Linked DNA regions of Homo sapiens: regions 2, 3, 4, 5, 6 and 7 are each linked to region 1. Evidence: promoter capture Hi-C in human tissues and cell types (Jung and others, 2019). All regions are on one chromosome and are shown on one strand. Each heading gives the region's core, a stretch centred on a gene start or on the middle of the fragment in contact. The rest is flanking DNA. Distances are from core to core; before and after follow the strand shown.

Region 1 (4,238 bases), core at 1,421-3,920:
ACAATGGACAGAGGAATTTTCAGCAGCTCATTTCTGTTCTGCAACCCAGAAATGATTTAAAGAGGAAGTTATAGTTCAGTTTTTCCAAGTTAGCATTTCCTGCTTCTTGGTTCTCCTGATTATCGGGCTGCCTTGGGTCCTGAACTAAAACATAGGAAGAAAAAAGGGAAAGTCAGTGAATGTACTCTAGCAAATGATGCCTTGCTTTCAGGCAGCTGTGTCTGGAAAGACTTTGTTTAATATTCAATGTGCATATCCTGGGGAAAAAAATGGTACATGTTTTAGAAATTTTACTGTTTATAACAATGCAGGCAGTCAGTTTCCCGTTTCAAACACAGATAGATACATGCAACACTCAAGATCCTGCAGAGAGGCAGCCAGCATCTATTGTTTAAAAAGGTTTCAAAAAGAATTCGGATTGCTCTTTTCTCTTTTGAATCTGTGTGCCAAATGACAGGGACCAATATTCGTCTTCTTTTTCTGTAAAACTCAGAAAGACACATGAAAGAACCCAGAAATGCATTTCTTAAAGGGATTTAGTGCAGTTATTTTAAATAATTTATGCACGCACACACACATACATATATCCCCCGAGTACATATTTTTTCCCTTTTTACTTGTGTGCAATCAGTAGCTACAATGACTGAAATCCACTTCTTTGGACTGTGACATTTAAGCAAATCTTGTATCTAGAAACCGAAATGCCCAGAGTCTCGCACAAGCTGTTCGTCTGGGCCACCAACTCACACAGCCGCCGCCCAGCGCCTCGGCACGCGTGCTCATCTTGTGTAAAAGTAAAAGTTGCTCATGTCATTAGCTCGGCTCTGAGTTTGCATGAGAAACCAGCGCAGCTCTCGAGCCACGGGAGAAAACACGATCTGCTGCGGAGCCCAGTGACCTGAAACTGTAGCAGTGACTCGAGACCTGTCCTCTCCTCGACGTCGCCCTATAACCCTCCCGCTTTATTTAGGATCCGCTTTTCCGAGAGCAGCCACTCAGGCAACCCCCGGAAGGTTTGTTAGGAGTTTCTCCTTGAAACGCTTTCCGATTCCATCTTTTGAAATCCAGCAGGCGAGAGTCACGACAGACTCCAGGACCTCTTGAGCGCTGTCCGCAGCCCCACGGTAGGAGTAGCCCTAGTGCACGAGACTTGGCGGTGGCTGAAAAGCTCGCCCAAACGCACGCACCACCTCTCTGCGGGGTTGCGGATTGCGGGTTGCGGTCTTTGTCCGCTCGCCCTTCCTCCGGGGCCGCACACTCCCGCATCTGGCCGGCAGGTGGCGCGGTTGGCTCACGATGAGCTGCGGCCGGGGCTGGAGAGGCTCCTCCACCTCCCAGCGGCCGCCCGGCCGCCGGGACCCAGGCTCCCCAGGAAAACTCGGCCCTGCTCTGGAGGGAGTCAGAGGAGGGGCGGCCTGGGAAGGGGAAGGGAGGCCTCATTGCTAGGAATCAGTGCCCCTGCCAGCGCCTGGGGAAATGCACCGAGTGGCGTTGGGGACCGGTCCCTGGGACACCGGCTGCGCTGCCTTCGCCGGACCGCTCTTAGGTGGCCGCGTCCACGGCTCGGGCATCGGGAAAAGACCACAGCCCGATGGTGCCAGTGCCCCCGGGGCCGGAGCAGCCGGGCGGGGCTCTGCGGGTCCTCCTGCTCGCCGTCTTCTCCCGGGGCAGGGAGGGCTGCCCCGGCTAGGTCGGAGCGGAGAGTCGCAGCAGCCGCTCCGGGCAGCTTCCCAGTCCCGGTCTGCCTTGTCTGTGCGGCTGCAAGTCCCCGCACCCACACTTAAGCCTTTCACTTCTACCCCACCGCTCCCAGACGGGCTAGGCCCGGTTCCAGGGACTGCCCCCAACCCTGCCCCCGGGAAATCCACAACTGGTTCCCTGCCCAAGGCCATCTCGGGGCGTCCTGGGCCCTGGGCGAGGTCCACGGCGTGTGCAGGGGGACGGGGCCAGCGGGGACTTCCTTACTGCTAGAAAGTCATTCGTTCAGTCTCTGGAGACAGTGACGGAGCCCTGCTGCGGACTGGACGTTGGGGACCAAGTAGGTCCCCGCTCTCCAGGCATCTGGGGAGCCAGGGAAGAAGCGAGTGATAGAGCCACAAAACTCCCCGCAAAGAGTATTTCAGAGGGGGAAGCGCCATAAAGACAAAACAGGGCAAGGTGGCAGAGGGTGGCGGTGGCAGGCGCGAGTCTGCAGCTCAGCCCGGGCGCGCTGGACGCAGACACGTCGACTCTCCTAAAGAAGCAACCGCAGGTCAGCTTAGACTTCTTTTATTTCAATAAAAGAGCGTTTTCCTCCATCTTAAACCGCCCGTGGTGGGAGAAAAGGTTTCCAACCTCTTCTCTGGCTCCCCTCGGTCAATTCCGAGCTTTTCCAAAGTCCCTCCGCCGTCCAGGGGCTCGACCTTCGAGGTAACGTGGGGGATCCCGCTGGCTCCCTCCGGCAGGCGGGGGCGGGGACCGGCCGTGCTCGCCCCCTAGAGCCCCGGGAGACCGCGCGCCCCGTGGAGCCCGGAGGGGGCGGAACCCTGGGGCGGGCCCTGCTCGGTGAAGGCGGGGCTCGGCCGCCCTGTCTGCGCCGCCATTGGCCGCGGGCCCCGGACTGGCGGGCTCACGTCACCGGCCGGGCCCGCCCCCTTGGCAATGTCTTCAGCCCGCTGCTCTCCTAACTTAAGCATTTATTCCACTGGGATAGAAGCGGCAGGAGCAGCGTTGGCACCGGCGAACCATGGCTGGGATTTTCTATTTCGCCCTATTTTCGTGTCTCTTCGGGATTTGCGACGCTGTCACAGGTTCCAGGGTATACCCCGCGAATGAAGGTAAGAGCGGGACGGCCTTTCTGTGGTCGGGGACAGCGAGGGGCCATCGCGGGTGAGGGGTCCTCAGGAGCGCAGGGCCAGGTGGTGCGGGGGGAGCCCAGTGTGAATGGTGCGTCCCGATTCGGGAGAAGGGGGCTGAGGCGAGGGGATCGGCGAAGGGGCAGCGGGGAACCGCCGGACAGCCTGCCCCGAGGCGGTGACCCGTGCACGCGGCGGGTCTGTCCAAGTTTGTAACCAAAGGCCAAAGTTTATCAGCATCCGCCAGAGAGGCCCGCTCGAGGCGCCCTGAGGGGATGCACGGGAGACAACGCCGGGATTTAAAAAAAAAATTACAAGAACCACGTCCTCTCCTGAGCCAGCCCGGGGCGAGGGGAAAACGCAGCCTGGAGCACAGTGAAGGCTTGGTGCTCCCGGATTCTAGCGAAAGCCTTTCGAGCTCTGGTTTCTGCAAAGTTTCCCGAGCCCTGCGCTTCTCGGGACCGGGCTGCGGGGCCTGCTCCGCAGCGCAGCGGTCGTGGCGCCGCTCGTCAGGCGCCAGTGACCTGATTTCTAGCACCCGGAGTCAGACACCTTTCTCCTCGCCAAGCCCAGCGCCCCGAGGGTGCGATTGCGGGCCTGAGGGGCCCGAGCTCTTCGCCCCGCAGACTTGGGGAACCCGCCGGCAAGTTGAACGCAGTCGAGTTTTAGCTTTTCGCCCCAGAATTGCACACAGTTTAGAGCTAACGTGCGGGGTCGACGGGACCCGTCTGGGTGCTCAGTTTTCTGTGCATCCGTTCGGACGTGCTGGGAGGATTGTATGTGCCTGTGTGTCTGTGTCGGGAGGTGGGGCGGGGCGGGGGGGCGGTGATCATTTAGTTTCTGAGAAACCCAGGGAGAGGCGAACTGTGTGTGTGTGTGTGTGTATGTGTGGTGTGTGTGTGCATGTCTGCGTGTGTGTGCATGTCTGCATGTGTGGTGTGTGTGCATGTCTGCGTGTGTGTGCATGTCTGCGTGTGTGTGCCTGTGTGTGTGCGCGCGCGTGCAACTGCGTGTATGTAGGTGCGCGAATGCCTGCGTGGAAGCGGACGCGGAGGATTGTATGTCTGTGCGCAGATGTCCTGAGTGTGTGCGCGTGTGTTCGAGTGTATGCTCGTGCTCTGTTCCAGCGTATGCTGGTGCTCTGGCCTGCGTGCATCTAGTCTCACATCCGTCTCTCATTCTTCTCCTTTCCGGCATCCATCTATCTATCCGTCCGTCCATCCGTCTATCTATCCATCCATGCATCCATCCATCTCTCCGTGCATCCGTCCGTCCGTCCATGCATCCATCCATAATGCATCCATCCATATATCTGTCCGTCCGTCCGTCCATCCATCCCTCCATCCATCCACCCATTCATCTATCCATCCATCCACCCATCCATCCATCCATTCATCTTTCCAT
Region 2 (3,670 bases), core at 160-2,659, 1.6 Mb after region 1:
ATACACACATATATATATACACACACACATATTTATAGGATATGGTTAAAACTGTGCTTTCATATAATATATAACCACATATATTTGCTACTATTTTAATAGAAGGTAAGATAATAAAGTTTTCAACTCAAGAAACTAAAGAAATGGCAAAATGGAACTCAAGCAGGGGAAGAAGATAATAAAGATAAATAAATACATAAATGAATTAAAAATAGAAAAGCAAAGTTGATAAATGATACCAAGAATTGGTTCCTTGAAAATTCAGTAAAATAGATAAATCTCTGAATAAGCTAATCAATAAACATAAAAAGCAAAATCATAAGTAAATGCATTTAGAAATGAAAGATGATAGTGGAATACGGAGAAGATTTTTAAATTATAAGTAAAAAACGTACCCGGTATGTAAACATATTAGTAAATTTCAATGAAATGGATAACTTTTGGCAATGGCAGATGAGGGTGAAGAATAACAAATTGAATCAAGAAGAAGTTGTTTTATTTTTAATTACTTCAATAAAAAATCAAGTGATCCTCTAGGTAAGTTATAAATTTTCAAGTATCCATTGTTTTCAGACTTTTTGAAACCAGTTATGTGGTGTTCAATCCAAGATTCTTAACCGTGAAGGCCTTTTAAACTCCCTGATTTTGCCCACATGCTGTGGACACCAGCATGAAAGTGATTTTCTGTAACGTAATTGCACCAGGGAGAAAGCCCAAGTGATGCCACACGATTTAGAACAACAGAGGTTTCCAATCCATAACCTTGGCATCTTCCTAAATCTTTTTATAATTGTCCTTGTCTTGCCTTGGAATACATATTCGGCTCCTCATGCATGGGGAGGCAGGCAGCATGTTTAATCATAGTATAACTGGTCAGAACTGCTTTGTAAATGTAAGTGTGAATCCCATTGTCTCTTCTTCTTCTAATCAATCATCCAAATCTCCACAGGCCTTATTAGCAGGGAGTCTAATGTCTCCCTTTTAAGACTCCTCTCACCCTTTGATAATCCACACCGGCTGTGACCTTTTCTCCGGGGCCGGTGGTTACACCTCTTTCTAGGAACATCAGCCATTCCCTCAGTACTCAGCTCCTCTGAGGGAGCCTCCTAACTGGGCCCCCCAAATCTAGCTCTAAGTGCTTTGGTTTCCATCCAGCTGTAAACCACGTGTAGTGACCACATCCAGCTGCCACATGAGCTTAGAGAGCTCAGTGAAGGAGGAACCAGGATCTACCAACACAGAGTCCGGGGGCTCCTTTCCTCCCCTAGGATCTATTGCCCAGACTTTCCCTTCTGAGCCCTAAAAATACAAAGAGCCTAACTAGATAACATCTCCCCCAAACAAAGGGGCTACTCTTCTAAACTGGTCCCCTGGCACCTTCTTCCTAACTAACGCTCTGAGACTTTCCAGGTGATTCCAGAGCCCAGGTGGTCACCTGCTCTTCTGAGGGCCACCTTCATGGGTTTTTTGGCATAGGAAAAGATGCAACCCGCAAGTGTACCTATGCCCCATTAAAAGTCACTCCACATCCCTATCCAGTCACACCTGCCATCTTATCCCCATGTATAGGTTAGTAATTTGAAGCTCAAAGACTTTTGCCTAAGGTCACTTGGCTAAGCTTCCTTTCCTAGATTTCTCTCTTCCTCACTAAGCCCTTGTCCTCTTATTTCCCTCCATCTCTTCTTTTCCCCAGTCAACTTCCTCTTCTCTATCTTTGCCTTCATCAACAAATTTATTGAGAACAAATACTAATCCAATATTGCAGCAGGACACAGATGGTAAAGGAATAAGACATTTATCCACGATCTCACAAAGTTTGTAATCTAGTTATAAAAACAAGATTAGCAAATGACATGAAGCAGCCTTAAATAATTGGATACTAATTTTATTTCTATGTCTCATTCTTTCTCCACCACAAACTCCACTCTTTCCCTTGTCTCTTGTGTTAGAAAAGGTTGACTCTTTTTTTATATTTCATTTTATATATATATATATATAGTGTGTGTGTGTGTGTGTGTGTGTAATCACAAAGGCTAAAATATACACTGCAGTTTATAGAACAATAATAAAATGACATCTATGTACTTTCCATTATACTTAAGCAGCAAAAACATTACCAGTCAATGATTGCCTCTTAGTAGGTAAGATAATTTATTTCTGTGGGTGTTTCAGAATAGACAGGATTTGGAAGACTGAGCATTGTCCCAATTAGAAGAGGTATACACACACAGACACACACACAAAAGAAAAGAAACAGTGCAGTCAAATCTATGTATAGCCCTTCAGTTCAGAGACAGGGTATGGAGCTGATGGCCAAGAGTAACAGGGCCTTGATCATAATATACTGTGAGAGTTCAAAGAATTTGAGGGCTAATAAAGAGAAAAATAACCCCCAGTGAGTTTTACTGGGAGACATTTGGACAAGGTTGCGTTAGAGGAGAAGCCCTTCATATCATGGGACTGTCCAGAAGGAACTACTGCTCTGAAGAGGAAGAGAACCAGGGAACTCTTGGGAGAGAGGGGGACCAGAAGGGGGAGCAAAGAGGAGGGTTGCGTCCAGGAGATGTTCCTCAGCAGGATGGTGGAGTGTGTCTAGGTCAGAGAACGTGGAAGGATGGGAGCTGCTTGGATCCTGTAAGCATAAGGCCCTGCCTTTCAAAGGCCAGCAGGTGGGAGGTGAGGTTTTGCAGGATATGCAAAGCAAGCAGGCCCTAAGTGGCTAAAAATCTGCTTGTTTGGGCTATTTTTAAAATAATTGGATGTGTGAAAAACTGAGTTTGGCACCAATAGGCTTTTGATCTAAGAAGTCTCAGCCGGAAGTGAAGAAATAAACAACCCAGGGGCCAATATCCAGAGACCATCTTTGGCCCATTTATGTAACACCTGCTGAGTATGTGCCCATCACCCCTCTTGGAAGAGGCCCCTATCACGTGCCCTTGGTTGCTGCCTCCATACTAACCCCTCTCCCACCCACAGAGCCCAGTCTATCAGCCACCAGATGATGCTGGGGCGAGAGGGGAACTCTTATTGAAGGGGGTAACAGCAGCAGACCTGCCCAACAGCTCCAAGGATGCCCTGTGTATCCAGGGCAGGACAGGACTCTCTCCCTGTCTCAGACCATCAGGGTTTGCTGACCATAGGTAAACTAATAGTCCTTCCAGGTATCTCTAAGAATCAAAAATAGACTCTTCTATTCACACACACACACACACACACACACACACACACACACACCTGTCTACAGACTCTTTTTGCAAACTATAGACAAATAAAGAGGCTAAACATCCAAAAACTAACAGTTAACAATAAGATTCTCCTCATATCATTCAAGGTTGAAATGTAGAAATAATGGTGAATTTTTCCAAAACTTTCTTTTGAAATAGGGCATTTATAAGCTGATGCTATCCGATGCTAATTGGTAAGGAAAAAAATTCAGCCATAAAGCATTTAATAGAATGCTTGGTAATCAGCATATTTCTTAAAAGAATGTTTCTTTTGACAGAATCAGATACAAGGAAATTTTTAAAATGAGAAGTATCAGTTCAGCCAGTAGCCCCGATGAGACAAGATTATTCCTCTAATGTACTTACTAGGAGTTAGCTGTCTAATGGAACTTCTGTGGCAACCCTTCGAAGAAAATTGCATGGTTTTACAGGGGATACTCTCAAAT
Region 3 (3,888 bases), core at 944-3,443, 1.5 Mb after region 1:
TCTTCCAGTTAAGAACAGTTCCTGGCACATAGTATATTCTCAATGAATATTTTACTGAATGAATATCAAATCAAAAAGATGAAGACACACAGCAATAAGGGTGGATCTGTATAGTGCTTGGTGAATAAAAATACAAGGAACAGGCTGGGCATCGTGGCTCACACTGTACTTCCAGCACTTCGGGAGGCCAAGGTGGGCAGATCACTCGAGGCCAGGAGTTTGAGACTACCCTGGGTAACATGGCAAAACCCTGTCTCTACTAAAAATACAAAAATTAGCCAGGAGTAATGGTGCACGACTGTAGTCCAGCTGCTAGGGAAGCTGAGGCATGAGAATCGCTTGAACCCAGGAGGTGAAGGTTACAGTGAGCCAAGATCACACCACTGCACTCCAGCCTGGGTGATAGAAAGAGACTCAATCTGGAAAAAAAAAAAAAAAAGCAAGAAACAGAATGAGATCTATAAAAAAATCCATTTATGTAGATTAGAAATGCTGGTATGTAAGGCATTAATACATTTGCAAGGCATTAAACCATTGACTGTGTTGAGGACAGGAGAGGACTGAAACATAGGAATTTTTTAAGTGACACACATACAAGCAAGAAAGAAGTCACTACTCATCATGCATTGATTTTGATCATAGCCATGACCTGAGATATAGAAAAAAAGAAGAGGGAATATTAGAGGTACTTAATATCAGACTCACACTGGGTTACTAATTTATATATAAGTTTAGATAAATAGATGACAGATATTGGATGGTATAGATAATAAATAGAAAGATAAATAGATGAAAAGATAGATTAGCTAGACAAACAGACAATAGAGAGAGAGAGAGAGAGAGAGAGAAATAGGTAGGTAGGTAGGTAGACAGACAGACAGACTACTTGGTAAACTGTTTATGCCATGATATGGATTTGCTTCTCCTCCCTTGACATTTTGGTAGTTATAACAGAGTTCCAAATAAAATTCTTCCTCCAGGTACCATAGAGGAGAGAAAAACAAAATGCTTGAACAAGTGGGCATGAAAGTCAAGATTCTGCTCCCCAGAGAGAGCAACCCAGAGAAACCACCCTCCTAGGGGAGGAACAGAGCCTCGTCCTGCTTTGGTTCCACACCCAGATCACTGCGTGCCCTTCAGGAACTTATTCAGACCTACGTTCCTTTATTTATCAAACTGTTTCAACTGATTTCTTTTTATGGTGCCCAAATGTTAGGGAGCATTTTAGGAACATGAAACCAAAATGGTGTGCAGGGATCCCCGGGACACAGTGTTAGGAAGCGGATGGGAGCCGATGATTAGACATGATGTGCAAACCACACAGGGGTCCCTGTAAGCCACAGCTGGCTGTGTAGCATAGATACAAATAACCCCAGACTCAAAGAATGTTAGAGCAAGATGAAGTCTTTAGCAATCTAGGCAGACCCCCCTCCCCTCCTGGTTTGCACAGTCTTAGAGAAACTTGCATTTACACTGAGTAAATGGCAAAGCCAGGGTGGGAACTCTATTCTCCTGACTGCTTCTCTCCAGTGCTCATTCCTGGAGCCTGAGGATAACCCTGTGTTTCCACATAGTCCCACTGCTGATGTGCGTAACGAGGATGAGAAGCCAGTTTGCCTCGCCCGCCCCAAAGGAAGTTGTGTGCTATACTTTTGAAATACATTAAGTTTTTTTCACCTGAAGTGAGTCCTTTCCTTTTTTATCTATTTCCCAATGTTCTAGACATGCAATATTTTTACTAGTAATATATACTGGCTTATGTACAGTGACTCTCAAAATATATTTCTTGGTTCTACTTTTTGATTCTAAAAGTATTAACAAGTAAATATACATATATATGTCTACACACATATGGGCATCTATATCTATATAAATGCATATACTTTCAAATTTCCACATTTATATACAGTGCAATCAGGACTGCATTCTATAGTTATTACCGCCCCACGCTCTCAACCATCCTTATTTACTTTTGATGTAGAAAGGAAAGGAAACAAAAAGGAAACTCTCCACTCTTAAGATAACTTGCTGGTGACCCCGGGTAAATGACAGCCAAGCAAGACTTCAAGGAACTTGTTACTTACAGCTTGAATTTCAGGCAAACATCTTCCTGCATTTCTAATGAAAACCGGATTCTTCTCCCTTCTTTTGAAGTGCTCTTTGGGAATTGTTTGAGTGTTCTTTGCAATCTTTTATACCCAGCCTAAGGACTCTGACAAACTCTCTCTTTCCCTTCAAAGGCTTGTTAACTATGTGATGAATACACCTGTCACTTCCAATTCTAACCTTACTTTCTGTTGTGATGGCTGTAGAATTTGGTATCTATGGCAACTTTTCAGTGGCTCAACATCGATTAAAAAATGATTGGCTTATCAGGGTTGCTTGGTTGATTGATGGAAATGATCAGTTGCTCAAAATAATCATGACAGATAAAGTCTCCTAATTAGCTAGTATTTGCAAGATTCAGAAATTTTAGATTTCTTTTTTTTTTTTATTATTTCCATGCAAAAGTAACTGGGATCTAATTCTACTAAAGTAGTTACAAGTTAATTTGGACTGCCTCAATGAAGGGAACTTGATTCAATTCACATATTTTATTTCGCAGCCAAATGGCACATTTTGTCTATTTTAGAAAATTTACTCCTTGATTTTCTAATATCTCAAGGTCAGAGGCCAATTTATGTGTTTTAAAAAAATTAACTTTGGTACTAAAAAAAAAAAATAGCCAGGTTTAGAGCATTTGCAAATGAATTCTAAAGATTTTTATTCTAATCCTTACCCAAGTGCGTAAAACAAGGAAAGACAGTATTGTATGGGAGAAATGTTAACTACAGCCTGACCTTCCCAGGAAATTTAAATGCTTTATCTTTGAATAGAACATTTTAAATCAACATCTTCAAAAGTATAGTGATATATCAGTGATTGTATACAAGATAAATTTAGGTAGTCCACAAACTTTCTTAATAACCAAGTAGTTATTTATTTTACTGTGACACTGCTGTTGTTCAAACATTTTTTAAAAAGTGGCAACTTCATATGGTTTTGCTTAATATTTTATCTTTAAAAATAACTGTATTCACTTTCTAGGACTGCTATGAAAATGTACCACAAATTAGGCAGCTCAAATAAACAAAAATCTATTGGTTCACAGGTCTGGATGCTAAGAATTTGAAATCAAGGTGACAGCAGGCCATGCTTCCTCTGAAACCTGAAGGGGAATCTTTCCTTGTCTTTTCCAGGCTTTGGCATCTGCCTGCAATCTTTGGCATTAATTGGCTCACAGATGCGTAACTCTAAATCTCTGACTTTGTCATCACATGGCATTCTCCGTCTTCTTATAAGGGCACCAGTCACATTGGATCGGGGACCCATCCTACTTCAGTATGACCCCATCTTAACTAATTACATCTACAATGACCCTACTTCCAAATAAAGTCAAATTTGGAGGTAGTGGAGGTTAGGACTTCAACATATAAATTTTGGGGGGACACCATTCAACTAATTAACAATAACTAGCCCATTAAGTCTGTGATTTCACAGATAATATTGCTTAGTATGAGGCTAGAACGGCTTTTGTTTTTAAGTTACAGTTGATGCTTTTAAAACTAAATAGGGATGGTATGTGAACATGGCAAAATTTGTCCACATCGCACTGAGAATGACAGAAGCTGGAGGGTGAGCTTAACCGTAAAACCAGCCATAAATGATCCCCTCCCTGTTTCCTCATCCCTTTACAATGTTCCCTTGCAGCAATTCCCATCAAGAAGTGGAGTCTGTTTCTCTACCCCTTAATTCTGGCTGCCCTCATAGTTTGCTTTGGCCAGATTAGCAAGTGTGCCCTAAGGGGAAGTTTGAAAAATGCTTGCTCATTGGGCTTGCCTTCTCTCC
Region 4 (3,629 bases), core at 57-2,556, 1.5 Mb after region 1:
GAGACCCTGTTTTAGGGCTTTGCAAAGTGAAGGACCGTCCATTACAGCCGGGCATTTATGCCTTCAAAATGCTCATTTCTTCTTATGAGACAATAAAATACTTCCTGCAGCAACAGCAGGTGAGCACAGAAAGCATCTTAAATATCTGACCTGAAGTGCTAAAGATGCTTAATAATCTTTAAAGTTACCAACAATATTGTTTCCTCCTGTTACCAGGATGTTGTAAAATGTCCTAATTAGTCTTTATGATAATGCCAACACCTCCACAGCACATAAAAAGGACTTTTAATTTTTAAAAGGACAACTCTGGTTGGTTTGATTTTTATCTCTAATTGGCCTATAATGTCTATATCCCTCTGGCACTCCAGACAGGCAAACATTAATTTAACAAGAAACTCATACACCACGGGAGACCAGAGAATCGGGTCTGGAAAAGAAGGTTCCAGTGTTCAGGACACAGAATTGGCTCCACTCTCTTTTACCTCCTAGAAGGTGCTAAACAAGCTTGTCTGCTGCTCAAAGGGGGACCTTCTAAGGCAGCAGCTTCCCAAGGACATTCTAAGGACCTCAGCCAAGTCTCTGCTGTGGCAGGACCAGGATTTGGCAAATCCCAGCGACCCAACCCAGGAAAAGCCCCACAGGAGACCCAGAAGGAGCAAGGCAATGGACCAAGCTGAGAAACTGAGGCTAGGAGAAAAGAGGAGAGGTTGGTACAGCCCTTGTTCTGTACCAAGGGCTCTGTGGTCTTAGACGGGTCACTTATCCTCCCTGGGCTTGCTTTCTCAGCAATAAAACAAAAAGGATTACCTAAAAAGAATATCCAAAGTGCTTTCCAGCTTTCACACGCCAAGATTTACTAGTAAGTGCGGCTCTGCCAATAGCACAGATGATGAGCCCAGGTTCTCCGGCAGTGGTAACACAGAGACAGGCTCAGGCCACTGGGAACCAGTAACCCTCCTGCAACATACAACACCAAACACTGTCACAGCCCAGCTCCGCACTGCCCAGGACATTCTAGAGCAGCCCAGAACAGAAGCCAAGTGAAGGTTGGGCACACTACAGGTTTCAGGATTGATTCTCCCCAGCCTCTGCCTAAAGAAATATATTCTGGATTTCAGGAGATTCCGCTGAATGATCCTGATTATGTTGCTCCTGAAGTGGGAAGCTATAACAGTAGACCCTCCTGAGTCAAAGAAGCATCACCTTTGCAATGAAGGATAGAAAATCTTCTGTGTGTTAAAAATTGCTTTTTCAAGTCACTCCTCCAGATATATCTGAGGGTTGATATGTGTTTGGGAGGCCTCAAGGGTTTTTGTTGCAATGGAGCCATAGCAGGAGGTCACCACATACTGACCCCAGATGATTCCAGTTGTTGACTAATGAGGCTCAACTGGCTGCCCCACTTCCACCCCACCCCCTTTCAAGCCCCATTCTCCTCAATGAGCTGCTGGCAAAGAAAGCAGGAGCTGAATTGAATAACATTGCTGTTGAGAGGCTTTTTTCTTCTAAAACCAAGAAAACCATGACAATCTTTTATTTATATATCCAATGCTTCGATTTAAAAGCAATAAGTGCAGTGGTGCTGCCATTTCCCTAGCCACCCTCTCTCATAATGGCATCATTGCCAAGCATCATGCTCAGCTCATCAGCAAGTCCAAGGAGGGCAGGAATAAGCCCAGGGAAGTTGCTGTCTTACAGGCTGGCTACTCAAAATGAAAGGTGCTCAAGCTTGATGTTCTGCCATTGAGAGAGTGGACTCCTGGTCAGTCTCTCCAAGTATCCGTTAAATCAATCATGCTGTTAAACACATTAACACCACACACATACATATTTTTAACTCCAGTACTGTGAAGTCTGAAACAAAACACAAATAAGGTAAGGAAACTTCGAGCCAATTTTTTACTCAAACCGCAACAAGGCCTCCACTCAACTGTTCATCTGTTCTACTCCATTGATATTTCTCCCCTCATTCTCTTAGCCTCAGTCCTAATTAATTACAAGGTAGGAGGAAGATAGAAAAATGCCTTACAGCAGTAGTCAAGGCTAAAATTTTGGTTTGTATAAACTTTGAATAACACTCAAACTTAACCTTTTCCTGCTGAACGTTACTTGTTTTTTTCTTCCTTTTCAGGCCATCTGGTACCCATCAATTCTAAATTCACTTTCTTATGTTCTGTACAGGGTGGGATCTAATCACTACTTTAAAATAGAATTTAGGATATGTTGATTTGACTTCCTCTCAGCCACAAAGCTTGGAGAGAAACAATATTTCTCATACAGAAATGCTGACGTCTTAAAGTGGTAGGATCATTACAGTCCTCTGTGAAAATAAATCAGATTACGTGCTACCTGTGGGGTTATGTAGGAATCCTTAAATTATGAAAGACCAATTTGCATAACCATTGTCCACTAACCTTTAAGTCACCTTGGAGGAGAATTGCAAAGAATGATATGCTCACTTTCCATCCTGGCTCGGTGGGGTAGCATGGTATACTGGGTAGATTGGGGCTTTGGAGAATCACAGATCTGGATTTATTTCCCACCTCTACCATTTACTATGTGCTGTTAGTCAAGTCGCGGAGCCTCAATTTCTTTACTCATAAAATGGGAGTAATAATAACTTGTAGGGTTTTTGTGAGGGGTAAAAAGATGTAATTAGATAGATATAGACATATAAAACAGCACAAAATAGAAGAAAATCAATAAATGATACTATTATTATTATTATTATCAAAGGCAAAATAAAAACAAAGTAAAAGCATACTCATCTAAGAATGTAATGATATTTAGGATTTATCCAAGAGCTTGGTAGTGATATAAACAACTTCCATAAGGAAACCTCATATTAAACTGATCTATTTGCTCACCTTTCCAGAACACAGAGCTGCCTCTCACATCTTCCCAATACAGATCTCAGAGAGAAAGAAAGAAATCAACTTATCCACAAATTCCTGTATCATCCTTAGGAAATGGGCAACAAATGTGCAGCCCCCATGAGCATGACTGTCTAAAGATCTACAAGTCAAATATTCACAGACATAGCCCTGCTGGTCATTACTAGTAGGACTTAAATTTGCCCAGTTTCCTCTTTAGTAACACCCTGTTACAACTCAACTGCCTCTTCCACTCCTTCTGGTATGGTATCTCCATCTGACTGGCCCAGCCTTGGCCATGGATCCCAGACTGGTGCTCAGTTTGATCCTCTCCATAGCACTCCCCACTCCATAGTCTAATCCTGCCAGCAGACTTTATGTCAGTCAACAACTGGTTAGGAATAGGACTCTATGTCTTATAATACAAGCATGCTCATCTAAAATTTTCCATAGGACCCTGCTGGGCAACTGCTAGAGTTTATCTGCAGTTATCCTTGCAGTATTAAAATCTGAGACTCTCCTGAAACTTATAGGGCCACTAAGTCCTTCGGGGACCCCAAGAATCTGCTCTATGAATGGCCACCTCCTCTGACAGCCCATGGCTGGATCAGACTGTCCCGTCTGTCTTCTTGAGATGTTTCATCAACAGAGCCTGATGACAGCATGTGACAAGACTAGCTCACCAACAACAGTCCTGGAAGATTTATCTTACAAAAAGAAACAAAACAGGGCTAAGTGGGAAAACATCCCTGCCTA
Region 5 (3,689 bases), core at 500-2,999, 1.5 Mb after region 1:
TTTCTTCCTCGGTGGTGGCTCTCATGCCCTAAAACAATGAAATGTACAAAGGTGAGACATGTTAAACTACTCTTCAGCTCAAACATCTTACTTGTTTCCTGCTCCCTATAAAACAAGATGTGATATAAATCATTCTAACATTTAAGGCCCTTCACCACCTGATTTCAGCACGCTTTTTACAGAATCAAAGTCCTTCAGAGTTAGGATTAGATCTGGAGACCTTCCATTCCCATGGAGTCTCCAGCCAGGCCTCCAGTACTTTGGAATCAACCAGGGGCACCAAATCCACCAGAGATAAGTGCTTCTCAGCCTAGCTGCCCCTGGGAATCACTTGGTGAGCCTTGCAAATTCCCAAAGCCTACATTGCTCCCAAGACCCATCGAATCAGAATCTCTGGAGTTGGAACTGAGGCATTCCTAGTTTTAAAAACAAGTCAAATAATTCCACTGTGCAGCAAGAGAACCATGACCCTGGGACCACACTTCATATCTACGGAAACATGACATTCACAGGATGGACCCAGGAGTCTGTATTTTAAATAAACACTCGGGGAATTGTCATATAAGATCAGATTTGAGAACTAGGACTAGTTCAGCTCCCATAGTCTATAGATTAAGAATCAGAAGCCCCATACTAAATCACAGAGCCTGCATCGAAAACTAGTTAGTAGCAAAACTAAAAGCAGAATCCATATGTCCAGATTCCCTGTCCCATGCTCCTTCCATGATGCTATTCTGCTTTCTAACCTTTCCTCACTCCAAGTTTCCCATATATCTTCTGCTCCAGCCAGGCCCATCTGTCCATTGACCCCTAAATACATTGTGGCTTCTGTCATGTTGGTACCACTGACCCCACCTGGAATAGTCTCACCATTCCTTCCAGCCTAACTCGGTTCTAGGCTTGGCTTTCTGTAAGGTTGGTTCCATTTCCTGTGTAAGCTTTCTTAGCTGCCACTGCTGCACACTCCACCTCTCCCTTCCCTCGATCCCTGTAGCACTTACAGTCACAGCTTAGCATTGAGTTATTATGTGGTAACACAGGCTAGAAACTGCCAGAGGCAAGAGACCATGGCTTATTCCCTTCTCACATCCGCCCAGTGCACTCAGAATAAACACTCAGCAAATGCTCCTCCATTCCCAGACAGAAAGGCTCAAGACTCATTCACGTATACCTTGTTGAAAATCACCTTTTAGGCCCCTTTCACATATCTGTTGCAAAGAGCAAAAAAGAATTACTTTCCGGGTTTCCTTTCTCCTATTTCCTCTTAAAAGAATGGCCTTGGGTTTATGTGAATTTGATGTAAATTTGATGCCCAGTAAATTGATGCCCAGAGTACCTAACATTTCAAGAGATCAGCATGACATATGCATAGATATTATGCGTCTTTTGTGTGTTGTCATTCAGCAAATGTCAATGGCTTTTCAGAATAATAGACAATCCTGAGCTATTGCCACACCTGCATATGTACTGCCAAAAACCACTCAGTTCTAGAAATATGCAGAAAATCTCCCTAATGCCTCAGGAAATGAAGGGACATACAAATATGGCAGCTCTCATCATTTACCTCATCAGCACTTAGCTCAATTACCATCTTCAAATCAAAAGGCACTGAAGCTTCCAAACCTGGAGTTCGACTTTAAGGTTCCTCATCAAGAAAATTCTCCAGTTTCTCAATGGTTTTTATTAGAGCCATAGTAAGCTAATGGATATTTTGTGTGCATAAAAAGTGACCAACCACGCCTGTAATCTCAGCACTTTGGGAGGCCGAGGCAGGCGGATCACGAGGTCAGGAGATCGAGACCATCCTGGCTAACACGGTGAAACCCCGTCTCTATTTAAAAAAATACAAAAAATGAGCCGGGAGTGGTAGTGGGCACCTGTAGTCCCAGCTACTCGGAAGGCTAAGCCAGGAGAATCATTTGAACCTGGGAAGCGGAGGTTGCAGTGAGCCGAGATTGCGCCACTGCACTCCAGCCTGGGCGACAGAGCGAGACTCTGTCTCAAAAAAAAAGAGAAAGAAAAAGTGATCAAGATATAAATGACCTTGTGAGTGGTTTACATGGAAGATTCTATGCTGGTAGAAATCTATAATGGTGCGGTCACTTTGAAAAATAATCTGTCAGTTCTTCAAAAGGTTAAACATAGAGTTACCCTATGATCCAGCAAGTCCATTCCTAGGTATAACCCAGGAGAAATAAAAACATACGCCTACAGAAAAAAAAATACATAAATATTCATAGCAGCATTATTCATAATAGCAAAAAAATGAAAACAACATAAATTTCCATCAACTGATGAATGGTTAAGTAACATGTGGTATAGCCATACAATAGAATATTCAGCCATAGTAAGAAATGAAGTACAGACACATGCTGTAATATGGATGAACTTTGAAAGCATTATGCTAAGTGAAAGAAGCCAGTGACAAAGGGCTGCCTGTTATATTATTCCATTCATATGAAATAGGCAAACTCACATAGGCAGAAAGTTTATTAGTGGTTGTCTAGGGCTGAAGGGGAGCAAGGGGTTGGGGAGAACTAGGGAGTGGCTGCTATGGGTACAGAGTTTCTTTTGGGGGAGATGAGAATTTTCTAAAAATTGTGGTAACAGTTGCATACCTGAATATGCTAAAAACCATTGAATTATATCCTTTAAAGGAGTGAATTGTAATGTATATGAGTTATGTCTTAATAGAGTTGTTACTTTTTTTTTTTTTTGAGATAGAGTTTTGCTTTTCTTGCCCAGGCTGGAGTGCAGTGGCACTATCTCGGCTCACTGCAACCTCTGCCTCCCCAGTTCAAGCAATTCTCCTGCCTCAGCCTCCCGAGTAGCTGGGACTACAGGTGCGCACCACGACACCCAGCTAATTTATATATATACATATTATTATTATTATTTATTTATTTTTTTTAGTAGAGATGGGGTTTCACCATGTTGGGCAGGATGGTCTCAATCTCTTGACCTCATGATCCGCCCACCTCAGCCTCCCAAAGTGCTGGAATTACAGACATAAGCCACCACGCCTGGGCCCCAAAGTTGTTACATTTTTTAAAGTTTAAAGAAAATTGAAAATTCCAATTCTTCTTTGAACCTCTTAGTAGCAATATAATCTCGAGCAACTTGTTTAACCTCTCTAGGCTTCTATTTCCTCATCAGTAAAATGTACCTGCATATTGTAAGGATTAAATAAAATAATCCATATGGAGGGTTTAAACTTATAGAAAGCCCTCCATAACTGTAGCTATTTTTTCTGTGATTCCCTAATTCCTGGAGGAAGAGTGTAAATCTAGGAGCCTCCTGCCACAAATCTAACTGAATTCTATATATATATAAAAAAAAAAGCAGCAGCCATAACATCAGAAAAGGACTCAGAAATTAGAGGAAATCTTCCCCAGAATCATTCTTTCCCTTGGTCCGATGGCCCAACCCCACCTTCTCCTTGCCTCCACCCCCATCACCAATGTGAAAAAAAAAAAGACTTAAAAGATCCCTTTCCCTGTCTGCATCATTTCCACTCAGTGAACTGCCATTTCAGCTGCTGCAGTGACATTCCACAACTTCTGGAGTCTTGGAAGAACTAACCAGGAGAAGCAATGTGCATTTAATTAAAGCAACGGGTGGAAGGCAAATGGAAGAATGCTTACCTGCTGGGTACACCTCACACATCTTCACAGGCTCAGGAAAATTCC
Region 6 (3,866 bases), core at 724-3,223, 1.6 Mb after region 1:
CACTTTTATAAGTAAAGTTTTGTTGGGACATAGCCATGCTTATTTGTTCACATGTTGTGGCTGCTTTCCTGCTGCAGCTGAGCTGAGTAGTAGCCACAGACGCCAATGGTCCACAAAGCCAAAAGTATTTACCATCTGCCCCTTTGCCAAAAAAAAAATGCCAGCCCCTCCCTTGATCACTGTAGGCCACTGTGAGGACTTCAGCTTTTTCTCTAAAGAACATGAGACACCATTAGAGGAGTGACATGAGCAGACTCACAATTTAGGAGGATTGGGATGGCTGCTGAGCAAAGAATAAATTGGAGGGGTGGAAGCAGGGAAATCAATTAGGAGGTGAAAAATGAAGGTGGTTGGGACTGGAAATGTAATCAGATCAGAAGATGCACAAAGTCTAGCCATTCTCACAGCCTGGAGTGAGCAGGGTGTGTTTTGCCCTAATAGATTTTGGCCCAAAGCATCTGGGTTTGTGGGAGGGAGTTGGGGAGTCATCAAACTGAAAGTAGGATGACTTTCATCCAAAACTGAAAGTAGGCAGTTTTTTCCAAGGCAGGAAAGAAGCCACAGCAATGGTGCTAAAGGTTGCAACGAGCTAATACCATTTTCCAGTGATCTCCTTCTGGCTGCATAGTCTGGGCTTGGGCTGGGGTCCAGACAAGACCCTGGTTCACTTCCTGGTACCTTTGGTGCCTCATGGCTTCCCTTACTAAGGCAGACACTCAAATGATTTGAGGGGGCTTGGGTACAGGCCCAGACAGAGGCGTGGGCCAGTGCGTGGAGTGACAACACTGATGAAAGATTCCAGAAGTCAAAAGGAGGTGACAACACAGACCAAAGATCGTAGAAGTCAAAAGGAAGAGAAAAGGAGGTGGTGCCAACAGGAGATGCTCAAAAAGAAAGTGTAAGAGGGTCTCACGTTCTTACAATCAGCCCATGAACTACCAAGACCAGGGACGGGGTTTCGCTTCCCACCATTGCCCTCTGCACACCACACACGCAGGCTGCCCTGTAAATGAGACATGTTTTGCCTGTCAGCTCTGTTCTTGATGTTCTTTTAACCAGACTTCTAACACACACAGTTATTTGAGAAGGGCTCGGTGAGATCATGAGGAAGTCTAAGAAGTCTCAAGAGAAAGGGAATAAAAGAGGAGTTTGGGAGTCTCAGAGCCCTGCACTTAAACTTCATAACTATAACTTATTAGCTGTGTGACCCACTGCAAGTTATTTAACCTCTTTGTCCCTCAATTCCATCACTTGGTAAACAAAGAGGATGAGACAGCAGAGTTGTTATGAGGATTGCAAATAATGGATAAGAAGCCCCTGGCCCATATCAGCAGCTATTATCGAAGGGGTAATATATTATTATATTATAGAAGGAGTAAAATTATAGAAGGAGTAAGCTTCATTTACCAGATGTATAATCCTGAGAAAAATAAATAGCCTTTCCCAGCTTCATAGTTTCCCTGTCTGTAAAATGAAGACGATATCACCTTTACCCTAGAGTCTGGGGATTCAATTCACTCAGAGCAAACTGCAGATATAAAGCACTTAGTGGAGTGTTAGCATAGAACAGACACTCCAGGCAGCCCAGACACCTTTGTTATTTGTGAAAGGTCCTCTGAAGTCAAGACCTTCATCAAGAGGGTAGGAGGGAGACTGACAGAGCAAGCAAGAGACCTCAGGTTCACAACAGGCCAAGGCCAGAGACGATCAAAGGTCAAGGGACCAGGACTGGTAGAGATGTAAGGGTGCCCACCCAACACAGAGCAGCCATGCCCAGTTGAATCCACGTCAACCCAGAACATGAATGGCTCCAATGGGCTTCGGTCCTGAATGGATCTTTCCTTCCCTTGCAAGATCCAGGGTTGTGGGGTGGTAGAGAACAAAGGAGTTGTGGTAGATGACCAGGAATCCCTGGGAGGAAGAGGGAGAAATTCTCCTTCCTTGTTTGCTCCTACTTCAGGCTTCCTCACACCACCGACAGGTAAGGGTTGGCAAGCCCTGGGCATTGCAAGGACAACACAGAGCAGGTGTCTGTGAATTCAAAAGTATTAAGGAATCTGAAGACTAGGAAGGATATATAAGGTCACCTGGGATTGCAGCAGCACAGTGGACAAATCTTTTACTCTCTCTGAGCCTGTTTCTTCATCTGTAAAATGGGGATAAATGGTCCCTGTCTGTTTCATAAGTTTAAATAGTTATGACATTTAGCTATGGTTTGAGAAAAAGGAACTAAGTAATCAAGACCATCTCCATTCAGTCCATTACAAGTTCCATCTCAGAGACAGGAAGATGGAAAAGGAAAGAGAAGGGAATGTGTTTAGATGCCTCCCAAACTCCCGGCCAGCCACAGAGTCAGTGCAACAGCCCAGATTGCCGACCCCAACTCTAGGCATCAGACCTGCCTTCTCCATCATCAAAGGGTGCCTATTAGAGTAGGAGGCTGTGTTGGGACCCTGAACTGCCCCAGTGCATCCTAAAAGAGCAGTTTAGTTGGACCTAATGGGTGCTCTAAGGAGATGTGAGAGGAGACATCATATGGCTGATGAAGGACACACAGCAATGAGCAAGGCAGGAGTGATTAGAAGGCTCAGTCTTCCTGCCTCTGGCCCTCACTGCCAACACCTTGCCAATATCTGAACCCCAAATGGGCCTGAAATTGGCAGAGTCTGCTGAGCCCCTAATGCCTTATAGCACTTATCTAATCGTCCACCATAACATGCTTATGGACCACACAACGAGAGCTCCAAAACGTCCTGCTTTATTAAAGGAGTGAATGAATGAATGACAAAATGAACACTAAATTTTCAAATGCTTATGTTTGATTTCTGCCAACCTCAACTAATACCCGTGTCATGAAAATGACACTCTGGGGCTGAGCGCTGTGGCTCATGCCTGTAATCCCAGCACTTTGGGAGGTTGAGGCAGGCAGATTGCTTGAGCCCAGGAGTTTGAGACCAGCCTTTGTTTTTGGTAGAAACCCCTTCTCTACCAAAAACAAACAAAAAATTACCCCAGTGTGGTGGCAAGCACCTGTAGTCCCAGCTACTCAGGAGGCTGAGGTGGGAAGATCACTTGATCCTGGGAGGCAGACGTTGCAGTGAGTAAAGATTGTGCCACTGCACTCCTGCCTGGGTGACAGAGCGAGACCTTGTCTCAAAAAAAAATTAAATTAAAATTAAAAATAGAAATGAGAGTGACACTTTGTGCCATCTGAGCTGTAGACTAGAAAGTCCCAAAGGACAGATGTCACCTGGGATCAACCCAACCTCTTCTCTTCTCCATAAAATGACAGTGGCAATGGCTTCTGAGTTTACTTCACAAGTAATTGAGAGAGTCAAATAAGAATGGGCATGAACATGCTTTAAATGTAATAGGATGTACAAGGACCTGAAGTTTTCAGAAGCTTCCATGGACCCATTTGAGGTCAAAGGGAAGAACATTACATGTTGGGGTAAAAGGAGGGAGCTTTGATTCTCCAAGCCAGCAAGGCCTTGAATGGTACACAGCCTGCTCCCATGCATTCTTCTCCAGAACTTCATCTCTTAGGCTAAGGAAGGGAGTGTCACAGGAATAGATATAGCAGGAACAGCAGCAGCAGCAGCAGAAAAAAAAAGTTATATTTAATGAGAGCTTACTATATCTAGGGCTCCATGCTAAATGCCCCTCATCATTATCTCATTAAGTCTCCAAAACATCTGTTTCCAATGGGAGTAGTAATTAGATTATGGTTCAGTAAATATTCATTCCCATCTCCCTCCATAGTAGGAATGCATTTCCTACTCTGTAGGAAATTGAACTTGTAGACGCAGGACTTGGCCATGTATCTTGCTTTGGCCAATGGAATGGCAGAAGTGACAGTATAAGAA
Region 7 (4,050 bases), core at 1,019-3,518, 1.5 Mb after region 1:
TGCAGCAGCTGGACATGCTAGCTTCTAGATTTCCCTGTATACTCTTACCCATTTGCTGTACCAGAGCAGGGGAATAACTGTTCTCTGATCCTTCAACTTCCTTTTTTGGACCCTTTCCTGCTCAGCTCTTCCCATAATGTGCAAGGACCAATTTCTACAATAAAATCCTTATTCCATAATACATTGTATTTCTGCTTCCCTGATTGACTCTGACTGATACAGCTATCGGCAGTTTGGTGTGCATCCTGTCACTTCATTTTCAATACAGAGGTATATACCCAGATATTTCTCTGTCATTTTTCTTTAGATGTGATCAGATTTTAAGAGAGAGAGAGAGAGAGAGAGAGAGTGTGTGTGTGTGTGTATGTGTGTGTGTTTTAAACTTAACAACACCTTGGTGAGATTTCTGTGGCAAGACACATAAATTAACCTCATTTTTATGGCTATATAATATTCCATTATATGTAAGATTCATTTAACCATCCCCATATTGATAAACAGCTAAGTTGTATCCAATTTTCTACAACAACAAATAACACTGCAATGAACTTTTTAGATATACTTCTTTATGGATATTATGCAAACCTTTAGGGTTAGGGTTGATTCCTAGTGGTGGAATAATCAGTTGTATATATTTTTAATGTCTATAGATATTACCAAATTGCTTTCCAAAAGACTGCATTTTCCAAAATGTTCTTGCCATGGCAACAATTTTGCCCTTGTTCACTAAAAAGGGCTCTTCACTCTGGTTTCCCTGGAGATCCATGGCTTGACAGTGCTCTGCTTGAAGGGCAGAGGGCAGTGGACACTTCAAGGCAAGGTTGTGGACATTTGGAAAGCAAGAGGTATGATCGTGAAAAGCATCATGCTTAGAAGAACTATACAACTGGCTGGTTAAAGACTAAAAGAAGAAAACCCAAGAGAACTGGCATCCACGTGAAATGGGTAGAATGAAGTTAATAGTAGGAGGACAGGACTGCTTTCTTTGTGTGATTTCAGAGATTTCCCAGCTTCCCCCAAATCACTGCTCATGCATGCATCCACGGATATCCATGCACACAGACACATACATACAAGCATGCACCAGAATCTGCTGCTGCAGCTTAAACTTTTTTCAAATATTTTCATCCCACAAATAGACCTAAGGTTCAAATAAAAATAATCCATGTCAATAAGTAGTAGTTACGTGTGGGAACTTTGCTAAGTATTTTACATGCCTTATGTCAACCAAGGTAGGTGCTATTTCCATTTCACAAAGGAGAAAACTGAGGTTCAGAAAGACGAAGCCAAAGAACTAATGAGTTGCAGAGTATGGATTTGAAGTCAGCTCTGCCTGAGCAAACGATCTTTTACCACCGCACTGCCTCCCTGGAAAAAGGTAATGAAGCCTCAACTCCACAGCGAGGTATAGATCGCTTCTGCAGGACTCCTTTCTGAGAGCAGCTTTTCCTGGGGGAAAGGGCATTGGGTGTTGCAAAAGACCAGCTAGAGAAAGAAGAGAAGGTAGACAAAGAGGACACTGAGGGCATAAGTCCAAGAGTCTTCTACTTCCTGGGCCAGTGAAAAGGAGACAAAGTTAGATGAGCTCCAAGAGGAATGAGGGAGATGACCTGAGCAAGTGGAAGGTTGACTTTCCCAATTGGAGTGGCAACTGCTGATTCTTGTTTTAAGAGCATGGCAGAAAACTGGAAGTGGTACCAATGAGTCATTTCTGCCAACTCCCTCCTCCTAGTTATCGTATTGCTCCAGGACACATGGGGCCTACCCCATGGCAGGTGATTTACATACTGGAAAATAATGTGATCCCCACACAATTAGATGATTCCAGAGGCCAAGACTGACAGCCTTGGAACAAAGAGCTGGGGAAGAAGCACAGGGGCTAATGGATGATGAGGTGCCAGCTCAGGGGCAGGGCAGAGCAGGGTGGGTTGTGGGATCATCAAGGAAACTAGCGACATGGACGAGAGGCTTCAGGAGGAAGCACAGGGTACAACACAGGGAAGAGTGCCAAGGAAAAATGCACCACCTCCCCCTTGCAGATCCAACAAAAGATTGTGTGTTCGGGGCCAGGGACAGCAAGGAACACTGTACAAATTCCTGAGAACCATGGAAATCCTAAGAAAATCACTTAAGCAGTCTACCCTTTCCAGGAGGCCCACAGAATAAATTGCTTCACAGGGTTCTATCCCACTCTAAAAAGTCCTGCCCGTTTCAAGATAAAGAGATAACATGCCCCCTGGGAATTTATTATGGGACAAAGAGGGAAAGCAAAAGTGTAAACACAGCATCAAGGGCTTTGAAGTGCCAGCAACAGGGTACCACTGCACTGGGGTGCTGTGGGCATGGCAGCACACTCAGGGAGGTGACGTGAAAGAGCTGGCTCATGGCATTTTAACTGGAGTGGCGGCCTGTCCTGTTGCTGTCCACCTCAGGGCCCATGCAAGGCCTTGATGAAGGGCTGAAACGGGAGGCAGATGAATTAGCCAACCAAGCCTTCATCTCTACAGAGACCTGTCGATGCCAAGAGATGAGCCGTTCCAGCCACAGCCACAGCCACAATTATTTGCGCTAAACTCGGAGTTAAAGAAGACAAAGGGGACCGGGCCTGATGGAATGGAGAATATTAGGAGTGGTGCTATTTATCATACAGAATGCTCAAAAGCCACCTAACTAGAAGTAATGATACAGCGCTGATGGAATATTATACAGCTATTAAGGCTGAGAGTTATGAAGACTAAGTAGCAATTTAACATGGAAAGTTATCATAAGATGTAGCATCCACTGATGAGTACAAATACACTCTCACACTCATGTGGATAAATATCACAAGAGAAGATCTCAAAGTGGCAGCAGTCAGACCCAGGGGACTGTAGGATTAGGGGTGATTTTTTTCCTCTACTTTCAATGTTTTCCATATGTCAATAGACTGTCATTACTATAATGTGGGAAAATGAAGACAGAAAGTGATCTGGCCATGCACTGGGGTACCCAGGATGAACCTAGATCTCTATACAGTGTTGGTCCAAAGTGAATGTGAGTACCAGATGCCACACAGGCACCCAGCATGAACAAATACACACAACACAAACACACGTACCACACACAACACACATACCTAATCACACAACACACATATAACATAGATGCCACATGCAACACACACATATACATGCCATACATACACACAACACACACCATACATGCAATACACACAGACACACAACACACACATACCACATGCACCACAGACCCAATACACTCAACACACATCATACATACAACACACACATACCACATACACCCCCAACATACCCCACAGGGGCATATTCATGTGCTTTTTTTGCCAAGTGCATTCCACATGGCTGTCAGTTCCTGTAAGAATTTTGCTCTCAGGGATTCTGGTTAGCCAGAAGTTTCCTATCCAAGTAGGGCATGCCGTGAACCAACAGGGAGCCCTAAGCCACTTCCCACTCCACAGATTATTTACTTGAGCACAGTGTCCCGGACTTGCCAATGGACTGGGCATATAGTGAGAATCCTGACGACTACTTCTAGAAAAGCCACGTCCTTGGTTTGGGAAGACCCAGCCCTCACGTGTGCAATGCAGGAGAACACTCCTTGTTTCCCTTGCACAGACTGACTCCCACAGCTTTATTTGCTCCAAGCAGGTGAGCTTATACATGTGAAGTCAGTTCGTAATGGTAGTGTCTCATTTATGTGGCTGGTATCAGGCTTGCTGGAGTCTTCCAACATTCAACATTAGGCATGGTACATTGCATGTATATAAATCAAATTAACATACACTGTCACTGCCCGGTTGAGCAGCTGTATTCTTTGTGTTAAATTTCATAGTTAAAATGAAACACTTTTCCATTACTAGATTGCAGCTCCGCTGGGCAACTGCAACGGTTACCTGCCAGAATTAAGCCCCGTAATGCCAGCTCTGTCTCAAAATGGCAACTGCAAAGTGGATTTACAAAGTGACTGAGGAGTTGCTAATTGCCTCCAGAATAAAACATTGATGTTGATTCAAATCACTGAAGCTGAAGT

What was found. The method cuts DNA at HindIII sites, captures the fragments that hold promoters and counts their contacts. A contact is called where the count stands out against the background at its distance.
Region 2: a fragment that was not itself captured here is called in contact with the fragment with the promoter of EPHA4 in region 1 in 1 of the 25 tissues and cell types used here (mesenchymal stem cells).
Region 3: a contact is called between a fragment that was not itself captured here and the fragment with the promoter of EPHA4 in region 1, in 1 of the 25 tissues and cell types used here (dorsolateral prefrontal cortex).
Region 4: a fragment that was not itself captured here is called in contact with the fragment with the promoter of EPHA4 in region 1 in 2 of the 25 tissues and cell types used here (H1 embryonic stem cells and IMR-90 fibroblasts).
Region 5: a fragment that was not itself captured here is called in contact with the fragment with the promoter of EPHA4 in region 1 in 1 of the 25 tissues and cell types used here (dorsolateral prefrontal cortex).
Region 6: a contact is called between a fragment that was not itself captured here and the fragment with the promoter of EPHA4 in region 1, in 1 of the 25 tissues and cell types used here (dorsolateral prefrontal cortex).
Region 7: a contact is called between a fragment that was not itself captured here and the fragment with the promoter of EPHA4 in region 1, in 1 of the 25 tissues and cell types used here (lymphoblastoid cells).

What each region holds. Positions count from the first base shown.
Region 1 is chr2:221,570,736-221,574,973 of GRCh38, reverse strand. It overlaps EPHA4 (EPH receptor A4), which reads left to right and starts at 2,670. Exons shown (of 18, transcript NM_004438.5): 1 at 2,670-2,816. The coding sequence starts at 2,726. RefSeq lists silencers at 1,205-1,364, 1,415-1,694, 2,295-2,714. The HindIII fragment of the contact is 17,926 bases long and covers 1-4,238 here.
Region 2 is chr2:219,927,278-219,930,947 of GRCh38, reverse strand. All of the region lies in intron 2 of LOC105373890 (a long non-coding RNA gene), which reads right to left. Among named protein-coding and RNA genes, the nearest start is that of MIR4268, 23 kb to the right of the region's middle. The HindIII fragment of the contact is 3,836 bases long and covers 1-3,327 here.
Region 3 is chr2:220,090,252-220,094,139 of GRCh38, reverse strand. The region is part of intron 2 of LOC105373893 (a long non-coding RNA gene); the gene reads right to left. Among named protein-coding and RNA genes, the nearest start is that of MIR4268, 190 kb to the right of the region's middle. The HindIII fragment of the contact is 7,415 bases long and covers 1-3,888 here.
Region 4 is chr2:220,037,830-220,041,458 of GRCh38, reverse strand. No RefSeq gene overlaps it. Among named protein-coding and RNA genes, the nearest start is that of MIR4268, 130 kb to the right of the region's middle. The HindIII fragment of the contact is 4,075 bases long and covers 1-3,343 here.
Region 5 is chr2:220,069,252-220,072,940 of GRCh38, reverse strand. It overlaps LOC105373893 (a long non-coding RNA gene), which reads right to left. Exons shown (of 5, transcript XR_001739889.2): 2 at 3,645-3,689. Among named protein-coding and RNA genes, the nearest start is that of MIR4268, 160 kb to the right of the region's middle. The HindIII fragment of the contact is 4,261 bases long and covers 1-3,689 here.
Region 6 is chr2:219,992,806-219,996,671 of GRCh38, reverse strand. The region is part of intron 1 of LOC105373891 (a long non-coding RNA gene); the gene reads right to left. Among named protein-coding and RNA genes, the nearest start is that of MIR4268, 88 kb to the right of the region's middle. The HindIII fragment of the contact is 3,370 bases long and covers 289-3,658 here.
Region 7 is chr2:220,112,255-220,116,304 of GRCh38, reverse strand. All of the region lies in intron 2 of LOC105373893 (a long non-coding RNA gene), which reads right to left. Among named protein-coding and RNA genes, the nearest start is that of MIR4268, 210 kb to the right of the region's middle. The HindIII fragment of the contact is 6,513 bases long and covers 1-4,050 here.